Regions from separate parts of the Homo sapiens genome. Here region 2 is linked to region 1. The links are contacts of gene promoters, found by promoter capture Hi-C in blood cells and fetal thymus (Javierre and others, 2016). All regions are on one chromosome and are shown on one strand. Each heading gives the region's core, a stretch centred on a gene start or on the middle of the fragment in contact. The rest is flanking DNA. Distances are from core to core; before and after follow the strand shown. Region 1 holds the start of JAGN1 (jagunal vesicle mediated transporter 1). Region 2 overlaps TATDN2 (TatD DNase domain containing 2).

What was found. Contacts are between HindIII fragments. The CHiCAGO score rates a contact against its expected background, and 5 or more counts as called.
Region 2: a contact is called between a fragment that was not itself captured here and the fragment with the promoter of JAGN1 in region 1, in 7 of 17 cell types (naive CD8 T cells, naive B cells, monocytes and 4 more). The highest score is 8.6, in naive CD8 T cells.

What each region holds. Positions count from the first base shown.
Region 1 is chr3:9,887,516-9,893,033 of GRCh38, reverse strand. It overlaps JAGN1 (jagunal vesicle mediated transporter 1), which reads right to left and starts at 2,424. Exons shown (of 2, transcript NM_032492.4): 1 at 2,223-2,424; 2 at 1-119. The coding sequence starts at 2,311. The HindIII fragment of the contact is 18,772 bases long and covers 1-5,518 here.
Region 2 is chr3:10,258,152-10,263,669 of GRCh38, reverse strand. TATDN2 (TatD DNase domain containing 2) reads right to left here. Exons shown (of 8, transcript NM_014760.4): 3 at 3,000-3,533. Among named protein-coding and RNA genes, the nearest start is that of TATDN2, 12 kb to the right of the region's middle. The HindIII fragment of the contact is 1,770 bases long and covers 1,222-2,991 here.

The DNA.
Region 1 (5,518 bases), core at 1,175-3,674:
TGGCCACCTGATCATGTGACAAGAGCCTCAGGTGTCCCACGCTCATCTTAGCAACCAGCAGCAGCCATATGACCAGATGTACGTAGATCAGCTTCTTGATTTCATACTTGAGAGTCACACTGTGGGGCAGAGCAGAGGGAGAAGTATCTTTCAAATTTTTCTTACCACCAACTATATGCCAGACAACTGTACTGGACACTGGGATACAAATTTGAATAAAACAGCCTAGAAGCCGGACACAAAGAACAGAGGAGGAAAAAGTAATTAGAAAATGAAGTGAAAAAGTTCTAGTAAATATATGTTCCCAGATATATGGGATCACAGGAAGGAGGAATCAACTCTGCCTGGCATGGAATGTCAGAGATGGCTATCTAGAGGCAGGTGATATCTGAACTAGGCTCAGGAATGAGTGAAGATGGGCATCCCATGCAGGAGCATGCAGACAAAAAGGCCCAAGTATTTGTGTTCCAGGAAAGCAAGTGGTTATGTGTGGCAGGAACATATTGTTAGGGGGAGAGGGGTAGTGGGATATGAATCACAAAGACTATGAGAGTTAAAAGTAGAAGAGGCTGGGCTCACAACTCTAATCCAAGCACTTTGGTAGGCTGAAGCAGGAGGACTGCTTGAGCCCAGGAGTTCGAGACCAGCCTGGCAACAAAATGAGACCCCATCTCCATAAAAAAAAAAAACAACAACAATACTACTAATAAAAAGGCAGGGCTGGGCGCGGTGGCTCACGCCTGTAATCCCAGCACTTTGGGAGGCCGAGGCGGGCAGATCACGAGGTCAGGAGATCGAGACCATCCTGGCTGACACGGTGAAACCCTGTCTCTACTAAAAATACAAAAAAATTAGCAGCACGTGGTGGCGGGCGCCTGTAGTCCCAGCTACTCGGGAGGCTGAGGCTGAGAATGGCGTGAACCCGGGAGGCGGAGCTTACAAGTGAGCTGAGATCGCGCCACTGCACTCCAGCCTGGGCGACAGACCGTGACTCCGTCTCAAAAATAAATAAATAAATTAATAATAATAATAAAGGCAGAAGGGTAGCTCAGAGCTGTGTTTAGCAAGAGGACGCTGACTGCACCATAGGATTAAAGTCTGGCGGGAGAAGGTATTGGCAGAGAGGAAACGTACTCAGGCCGCCCATACTTCTCCAGCTAGATTTTTTCATCCAAAAGAAGTACATACTTATCTTATTCTTCTAATTCTCTCACGTCCCAAACGTATCCTCCTCATATCCCTAAAGGCAATGTTTCTACTCTGGGCTGGCATGAAAACACCTGCTTAAGTTGTGAGGGCCCTTTCAGCCGGGGCCTAGAGATGTGAAACAAATGAGAGTTCAAAGAGCTTGTCATTCTTTAAAACTCTGGAGAGAGAGATGTGAAGAACATTCTGGGAGAGATCAATGGATTTAAGGAAGTAAAAATTTTAAAATTTTTATTTAAAAATATTTATTGTAGAAAATGTGGAAAGGTTGGAAAAAAAAAACAGTCATCTCTAGACTTCAAGCTCCATGAAGGCAGGGAACAGTTTTTTTTTTCTTTAATAAAATTGTTTATTGAAGGTATAACATGTATACAAAGACCACGTCTGCTTTTGCTCACTATTATAACCTAGTGTCTAGCAGTGTATGATGTTTGGAAGCTCAGTATTTGTCGAACTAGTAATTGAATGTAGAAATACCCCTTACGTGGGAGTGTTTATAAAATTCATTTTAGGCAAGGCGTCCTTAGGAAAGGCTGCCTTTTACTGTCTATATCCCCCCAAACGGCCCAAAATATAACACCTACCATATATTACGTGGTAGGCCTTATGCTACTTTCTTTACACGAATTACTGATTAATCTTTCACCAAAACCTAAAAGGCAGATTATTCTCTCCCTCTACAGATGAGGAAGCTGAGGCTCAAATTAGAAATTCGGTTTCGAAGGTGATACAGCGGGGCCAGCATCGACGTGACTCGGGAGCCCACGCAGGGCGGGAGCCCACGCGGGGCTGGATCCCCTCAAGGCACCGGGCGGAACAAGGGGTGGAGCTCGCGGGGGCCACGGGGCTTTCCAGGATGGGGGACAGGCCCGAAGCCGTCACGGGAGGAGGGGACTTGGCAGGTGAGCGGGGGCTGGCTGGGGAGCAAGACCCTGAGGCCGGGCCGGCGTCGCTCCCCAAGCCCCGCAGGCTCCAGCGGGGGAGAAAGCCTCCGTGCTCCTCGCCTCACTTCATACCTCATCTGGTAGTGCATGGCGACGCGCTCCCGGTGCTGAAAGTCGCTGCCGTCGGTGCCGGCCGCTCGCGGGCCTGCTCGAGACGCCATTGTGCCTGCCCAGAACCCCCGAACCCCTCACGCGGACCTGGTACCGCAACGACACCGCCAAGCGGCCCACTGACCCTATTTGCGCCCCCGCAGCCGCGCGGCTCCGTGAAGAGAACTTCCGGCCCCTCTGTCTCTGGAGGACCGACTCTATGGTCACTCCTCTCCGCGCAGGCGCCCTCGTTCCCTCTCGCCCCCGCCCCGCCCAGCCCCGCCTCTTGTGGAGCGCGCAGGAAATTAATCCCCAGCCTCTTTTGCTGGCGCCCAGAGGCCGCTTGAACACTTTTACTTTCTTAAGCTGTAATATCAGTTAGGATACTTCTGTCCACACTTTACAGAGGGGGAAACTGATATATTCTATGACTTTCCCTGGAGCACACATCATTCACACAGCCTCACACCTTTAATCCCAGCACTTTGGGAGGCCGAGGTGGGTGGATCACTTGATGTCAGGAGTTCAAGACCAGCCTGGGCAACATGGTGAAATCCCGTCTCTACTAAAAATACAAAAATTAGCCAGGTGTGGTGGGTTCCTGTGACCCCAGCTACTTGGGTGGCTGAGGCAGGAGAATCGCTTGAACCAGGGAGGCAGAGGTTGCAGTAAGTCGAGATTGTGCCAATGCACTCCAGCCTGGGGGACAGAGTGCAGAGTGAGACTTTGTCTCAAAATAAGTTTCTCACATTTAATTATTGCAAAGAGAAACAGGGAATCTCTCAGTGAGGAAATCTGGCTTGTCTCCCTTAAACATATAGTCAGTTAATTTGATCAATAATGAGATAAACTGATATCTTGTGCCTCTTTTAATAGACTGAGGACACAGCATCACTTCTATGATGTTTCTGCCAAAAATACCTAACTGAATCTAATCATGAAGAAATGACATAAATCCAGACGGAGGGACAGTCTAGAAGAGAGCTGGACTGTACTCTTCAAAAATGTCAAGGCCATGAAAGAAAAATTATTTCCAAATAAACTTTATCTGTAGAGACAAAGTAGAATGACCATTGCCAGAAGCTCGAGGGGTGGACAGAGAATGGGGAGCTAGTGTTTAATGGGTACAGAGCTTCAGTTCGGGAAGATGAAAAAAGTTCTGGAGATGGATGGTGGTACTGATTGCACAACTATATGTGTGTGCTTAATGCCACGGAAACTGTACACTTAAAAATGATTAACATAGTAAGTTTTATGTTATGTGCATTTTACCACAACAAAATACTAAGCGAAACTTTAAAGAAAGAAGTTATATTATCCGAATAAAGAAAAAAAGAAAGAAAAAAGCATGTATAGTGAGCATCTTCCATGCACCAGGATGCTCTGCTATGACCTGGGGACGCAGAAATAAACATGGTCCATTTCCCCTGAGGGATCCCAGCCCAGTCGGGGGAAGAACTTGTACCCATGAAGCTAAGAAATTCAAGAAAACACAGGAGGCTGAGGGAGGAAAAATGAGGCCTCTCTCCCTGACCTGGAGGGTTAGGAAAGTCTCTCTGGAGTGGCAGCAATTGAGCTGAGGTCTGAAGCCTGAGTGGGAATTGGCTAAAGAGGTGGGGAGCGGAAGAGCTTTTCAGGCAGAGGGAACAGCATGTGTGAAGGCCCCAAATCCAGAGAGCACTTGGCTCTTCAAAGAACTGAGAAACTTAAGAGTGACTGGAGCATTTGGAGGGTTCAGTAAAGAGTTAAGTCTTTATCCCAGGGGGTTTGGGGAACCACTAAAAGGTTTAACCAGGAAAATGACACAGTTTTGCATTTTTAAAAGATAGGTCTAGGTGGGGGCACAGTGCCTCAAGCCTGTAATCTCAGCACTTTGGGAGGCCAAGGCAGGAGATCAGCCTGGGCAACATAGTGAGACTCCCGTCTCTACAAAAATAAAAAATAAAATAATATTAACTGGCATGGTGGTGCGTGCCTGTAGTCCAGGCTACTCGGGAGGATGAGGTGGGAGAATCATTTGAGACCAGGAGTTCAAGGTTACAGTGAGCCATGATTATGCCACTGCATTCCATTCTGGGCAACAGAGTAAGACACTGTCTGTAAATAAATAAATAAAGATAGATCTAGTTGCTGTGTAGAGAATGGCTTGCAGGGGCCAAGGGTGAAGCAGAGGAATCACTTGAAGGCTACTGCAGTAATTCAGGCAATCCTAGGGGTGGCTTGGGCTAGGAGGTGGCAATGGACAGAGAGGAACAGATTTGAGTTCCTTGGGATTTAACATCTGTAGGTGGGTAACAAGAGCACATATGACCAGCAAGGGGCTCACACTAGGAAGGGAGTCTGTGTGGCTGGGATCTGAGAAAGGCAAGCAAGAAATCAGCAACATTGGCCGGGCACGGCTCACACCTGTAATCCCAGCACTTTGGGAGGCCGAGGCAGTGGATCACTTGAGGTCAGGAGTTCAAGACTAGCCTGGTCAACATGGTGAAACCCTGTCTCTACCAAAAGAAATACAAACATTATCAGGGTGTGGTAGCGCATGCCTGTAGTCCCAGCTACTTGGGAAGCCGAGGCAGGAGAATCCCTTGAACCCGGGAGGCGAAGGTTGCAGTGACCTGAGATCACACCACTGCACTCCAGCCTGAGCAACAGAGTGAGACCCTGTCTCAAATTTTAAAAAAATAAGAAAAAAGGCTGGGTGCAGTGGCTCACGCCTGTAATCCCAACACTTTGGGAGGCTGAGGCGGGCAGATCACAAGGTCAGGAGATCGAGACCAGCCTGGCTAACACGGTGAAACCCCGTCTCTACTAAAAATACAAAAAATTAGCCAGGCGTGGTGGTACGTGCCTGTAGTCCCAGCTACTCGGGAGGCTGAGGCAGGAGAATCGCTTGAACCTGGGGGACGGAGGTTGCAGTGAGCAGAGATCATACTGTTGCACTCCAGCCTGGGCGACAGAGTGAGAGAAAAGAAATCAGCAACATTTATTGAGTACCTACTCTATGCCAGGCATATTCACACACGTGAACTCATTCTCTTTTTCCAATACCCTTGGAGATAATTACTTTTGTTATCATTATCTTACACAAGGGAAAATTAAGGCTCAGAAAGGGGAAGTGACTTGCCCAGGATCACGCAGCAATTGCACTATAAGAACTCAGACCAAAGTGGCCCTAGGGCTGCAGGATTTTTACTACCAGATCTGTTACTGTCCTGTTTAAGGGATGACGGTTCAGGACCCACTGAGGGATAACTAAGAGGGTTCGGGACCTCTGGGGA
Region 2 (5,518 bases), core at 857-3,356, 370 kb before region 1:
AACTCCCTAAAAGAGATAACAGAAGATGAAACAAGAACAGAGATGTTATTAAAAAACAAAAGAGCTCTTGGATAATAAAAAGCATGACAGTAGAAAAGTAAAACTAAATAAACAGCTGGGTTGGAAGATAAAGAAAAGGAAATATCCTACAAAGTAAAGCAAGAAATTGGCTAGAAACAAGGGAGAAAGGCAATAAAATTACAGGACCAGTCCTGAAAAATCCAACATCCAAATAAGAGAAAGAAGGTAGAGAAGCTAGAGAGAGAAAGAGAGAAGAAAAATACGGAAAGAAAACATCAGCGAAGTACAGTAATTCACGAACTTTTCCCACAGCTAAAGTACAAGGGTTTCTAGATTGAAAGGGAATGTCCCATGCTAAGCAAAGTAGACACCACCACCATGAAATTTCAGAGCCCTGAGATCAAAATATATTCTACAAGATTCCACAGAGGGAAAAAAAAAAAAAATACAGGTTGGGCACGGTGGCTCACACCTGTAATCCCAGCACTTTGGGAGGCTGAGCCGGGCGGATCATGAGGTCAGGAGTTCGACACCAGCCTCACCAAAATGGTGAAACCCCATCTCTACTAAAAATACAAAAATTAGCCGGGTGTGGTGGCACATGCCTGTAATCCCAGCTACTCACAAGGCTGAGGCAGGAGAATCGCTTGAACCTGGGAGGTGAAGATTGCAGTGAGCTGAGATCACGCCACTGGACTCCAACCTGGGTGACAGAGCAAAACTCTGTCTCAAAGCAAAAGAAAATAAAAAATAAAAAATCATATACCAAGGTTCAGGAACCAGCATAGCTTCAGACATCAAGAAAACCAGAAGAGGCCAGGCGAAGTGGCTTACACCTGTAATCTCAGTACTTTGGGAAGCCTAGGCAGGTGGATCACCTCAGGTCAGAAGTTTGAGACCAGCCTGGCCAACATGATGAAACTCTGTCTCTACCAAAAATACAAAATTAGCCAGGTGTGGTGGCGTGTGCCTGTAATCCCAGCTACTCGGGAGGCTGAGACAGGAGAATCACTTGAACCCAGGAAGTGGAGGCTGCAGTGAGCCAAGATCACACCAGTGCACTCCAGCCTGGGCAAGACAGAACGAGACTCCACCTCAAAAAAAAAAAAAAAAAAAAAAAAGCCCAGAAGAAAAGGAGCAATGCCTTCAAAATCCCAAACAAAACAATTTCCAACCTGGAATTCCAAAACCAACCAAGCTTGTAATCAAGGTTAAAGGTAAAATAAAGGCAATCTCAGACACATGTTTACCAAAAAAAGTTTCTCCATGTACCCTTTCTCAAGAAGCTACTAGAAAAAGTATTCCACCAAAATGTGAGAGTAAACCAAGGAAGAAGAACATGAGAAGACACAGAGTATAGGTAGCAGAAGACTCAATCCGGGAGAAATGTGAAGGAGGCTCCAGAGAGACAGCTGCCAGCTGGCCTGACGGCAGGCAGTCCAGACCAGAGCAGGACAACAGAGGGCTGAGGACGTATACCTCCAAGAGAGAAAAAAAAGAAACAGATTCCTTATTTTGACAGTATTGAGAAGGATTTTACAGCTCTCGCAGTTTGGGGATTAATTAGTGAAAGGTACCAGGAAAACCAAAGGAAAAACAAAGTAATGATGAACTTTAAGGAAAATGAAGTTTTACAAGAAAGAAAATGTGATCAGAGTATACAAGGCGACTCAGCTGTGAACATGGCAGTAACAAATCTTACACAGACTTAACCCAAAAGGTATTCAAGCCACACAGGGAGGCTGCAGAAAGGGGAAGCTAATGTGTCCCTGGGTGTGGGTGCTTCTGAAGGAGGTATAGAGAACTAAATTCTCATCGCCCAAGCAAGAAGTCCTCAGACATCTAAAACTGAAAAACTGATCAACAGTAAAGATTATTTAGAAACATGGGGTAAGTACTAGAAGAAAGAGCTAAAGATGAGAGAAGCTGCCTGCAGAGCAGTAGTAAAGGATGGGTGGAGACGAGTAAGATGGAGGAATGTGGCCTGGCACAGTGGCTCATGCCTGTAATCCCGGCACTTTGGGAGGCCAAGGCAGGTGGATCACGAGGTCAGGAGTTCGAGACCAGCCTGGCCAACATGGAGAAATCCCATATCTACTAAAAATACAAAAATTAGCCGGTTTGGTGGCGCACACCTGTAATCCCAGCTACTCAGGAGGCTGAGGCAGGAGAATTGCTTGAACCCAGGAGGTGGAGGTTGCAGTGAGCCAAGATTGCACCATCGCACTCCAGCCTGGGCAACAGAGCAAGACTCTGTCCCAACAACAAAAAAAAAAAAAAAAAGAAAAAGATGGAGGAATGCTTCCCCTCAATTATAAGCTATGTTAAAAATCACTAGTTTCCGTCCAATGACATCCTTCCCTTCTTCTCTGGTTATCCAGGTACAAGTCTGCCTAGATAAAGGCTGATTTTCCAGACTCCCTTGCAGCCAGGTGTCAGCCGGGTTTCCCCGCTCTTGTCAACAGCAGATACAACATGTGCAACTCTTGAGCCAAGCTCTTAACAGGGAAGGAATGCACTCTCCTCTTCTCCCCTTCCCACTGGCCAGAATGCCCAGATAACAAACCCTGAGTCCTATCAGAGTATCCATTTCACACCAAGAGATGGACACTGTGTTGAGGGGTGATAGAGAATCAAGACAAAAGGTACCAGTATCTCTGACATGATGGAGCCATCCTTCTTAAGCCAAACTTATATTCTGTTTAAGCCACTGTGATTTTGGCCTTTTACACAGCAGCTAAACCCATATCCTAACATATAAATCCTTCAAAAAAAAAAAAAAGCACTTAGTTTAGGTTTATTAATAACTCTGAAAATCTGAAAAGTATGTTAGAAGAAAACCATCAGTTTGTTCCCTGGAGGCCTGGTTAAGTAAAGTACTATTTTTAATTAGTAACACTTAGGATCAAACTAGAAAGATGGAACACATTTCATCAACAGAACTAAAAAGTCAGATGCCTGGTACAAGCTTTACTCACCTTTTGGATTTCTAAATGAGAGTCAGAGTCATCCAAGAACTCTAGGGGTGGAGAGCATTTGTCAATGACAGTCCTTCGGTCCCCAAGGGGCTCCTCACTGGGTTTCTCTTGAGGGTCTATAACTACTCTCCTGTCATAGAAGCTGCTCCTCTCTGGCACTGTCTTATCCTCCTCCATGCTGACCTCTGGGGTTGCGTCTTTCTCCTTCTGAGCAGCAGTGACTGTGACACTCCTGGCTGCTCCTTCTGCAGTCTTGGCTGGTCCTTCACTCCTGGCTGGTCCTTCTCCATGGCTGGGATGCTCTGCTGCGCTTGGTTTTGCCCGAGTGGCAGCCTCTCCCTTCCTTTTTGGCATCGATTTCCCCAGGATGCCCTGGATAGCCTTCAGGTAGATCATTGTGGAGCCCTGGTCTCGAAGTCTATCCCTCTTCCTTTTCTGGACCTTGTTGGGTTCCTCAATTGTATCATTCTGACCCTCAGCTTCAGCTGCAAATTCAGAGTTTGTGGAGTTATGAGAACTATCTTTGGAATCAACCTGGGAAAAAAAAAACAGAATTGAAAGGGCTGTTCCAAGGGCACTTTCGTACATGAAGCATTTGGCAAATTATAAATCAGTGGTGGTTCTACCAGTCAAAGGGAAAGTGACTGTGGCTAAGGCAAAGGTTCTCTCCGGGTGGTGAAGTGGCACTGTAAGAGGGGCTGATTGCTGCCATTTCTTAGCATTCGCCTTCTCATGCTCAGCAGATGATATCCTTTCACTGCAAGGGGACGGAAGGAGCTGAAATGAACACTCTCATTAAACCAGACTGCAAGCTCCTGGAAGGCAAGGACTACACTTCAGGCAAAACAGCAGCTCAAGCTCTTCCCACTGGAAAGGGCCCTAGAAACCAGCTAGCCCAATCCCATATCTAAGGGTAAAGGAAACCTGAGGACCCAGTGAGGGGAAGGGCTAGCCCCAGGAACTCCAATCCCCCAGTTCTGAGTGCAGTGTTTTTCCCACCATACCCAAAGCCTCCTGAAAGTTCTCTGCAAACACTTCCCCTCAAATAATCAACTTGGTTTTGGAAAATACCTCAGTTTCTCAGTGACTGCACCAGGGTCAGTCAAGATAGACTGCTCCCAACAACAAACCTCCTCCAAGACGGAAGTGAAGCCTCAGCCCCCTCTTGCACCCACTCACTCCAGGACTCCACACAGAAAAAGCTAGACTTTGTTTGCCAGACTATTTTGATGTGAAATTCTAATCCAGTCTAATCCCTGCCGGGTGTAAGAACTCTCCACAAATGTCCTCCTAAGGCCATTCCATAAGCAGTAAACCATTATCCCATTTGCATTCCTAAGTCATTTCTATTAAATTCCTCTCAAAAGTAAATACAGACCAGGTACAGTGGCTCATGCCTGTAATCCAGCACTTTGGGAAGCCGAGGCAGGTGGACTGCTTGAACCCAGGAGGTCGAGACAAGCCTGGCCAACATGGCGAAACCCCATCTCTATAAAACACACGGGGCGCGGTGGCTCATGCCTGTAATCCCAACACTTTGGGAGGCCAAGACAGGAAGATCACTTAGGCTCAGGAGTTCAAGACCAGCTTGGGCAAGGTGTCAAAACTCTGTCTCTACTAAAAATTACAAAAATTAGCTGGGCCATGGTGGCACACGCCTGTGATCCCAGCTACACGGGAGGCTAAGGCACAAGAATCGCTTGAACCTGGGAGGCAGAGGTTTCAGTGAGCCGTGACGGCACCACTGCACTCCAGCCTAGGCAATACAGTGAGACCCTATCTCAAAAAAAAAAAGGCAAAATTGCTTTATATGTATATATTCGCAAACAAGTCTAAAAAGCTAAACTGTTTATAATGGATCTCTTTGGGGAATGCAGGGAAGTAGAAAGAGACTTAGGCTCGGCTGGGAGCAGTGCCTCACACCTGTAATCCCAGCACTTTGGGAGGCCGAGGCAAGTGGATCACCTGACATCAGGAGTTCGAGACCAGCCTGGCCAACATGGCAAAACACTGTGTCTACTGAAAATACAAAACTTAAGCCAGGCATGGTGGCGGGCACCTGTAATCCCACTTACTCAGGAGGCTGAGGCAAAGAATCGCTTGAATCGGAAGGCAGAGGTTGCAGTGAGGCAAGATCGTGCCACTGCCCTCCAGCCCAGGCAACAAGAGCAAAACTCTGTCTCAAAAAAAAAAAAAAGAAGCAAAATAAAAATAAAATTACAAAAATTAGCCAGGCGTGGTGGCACATGCCTATAGTCCCAGCTACTCAAGAGGCTGAGGCAGGAGAATCACTTGAACCCAGGAGGCGGAGGATGCAGTAAGCCGAGATCATGCCACTGCACTCCAGCCTGGGTGAGAGAATGAGACTCTGTCTCAAACAAACAAACAAACAAAGGCTTAGGTGCTTATATTATAAGCTTCTTGTATCATTTGAAATTTTTTTCCGAAGAGCACATCATATTTTTTTTTAATCATTATCCTGAATCAAGGGCCAAAGGAAAATAAAACTTAAAACAATC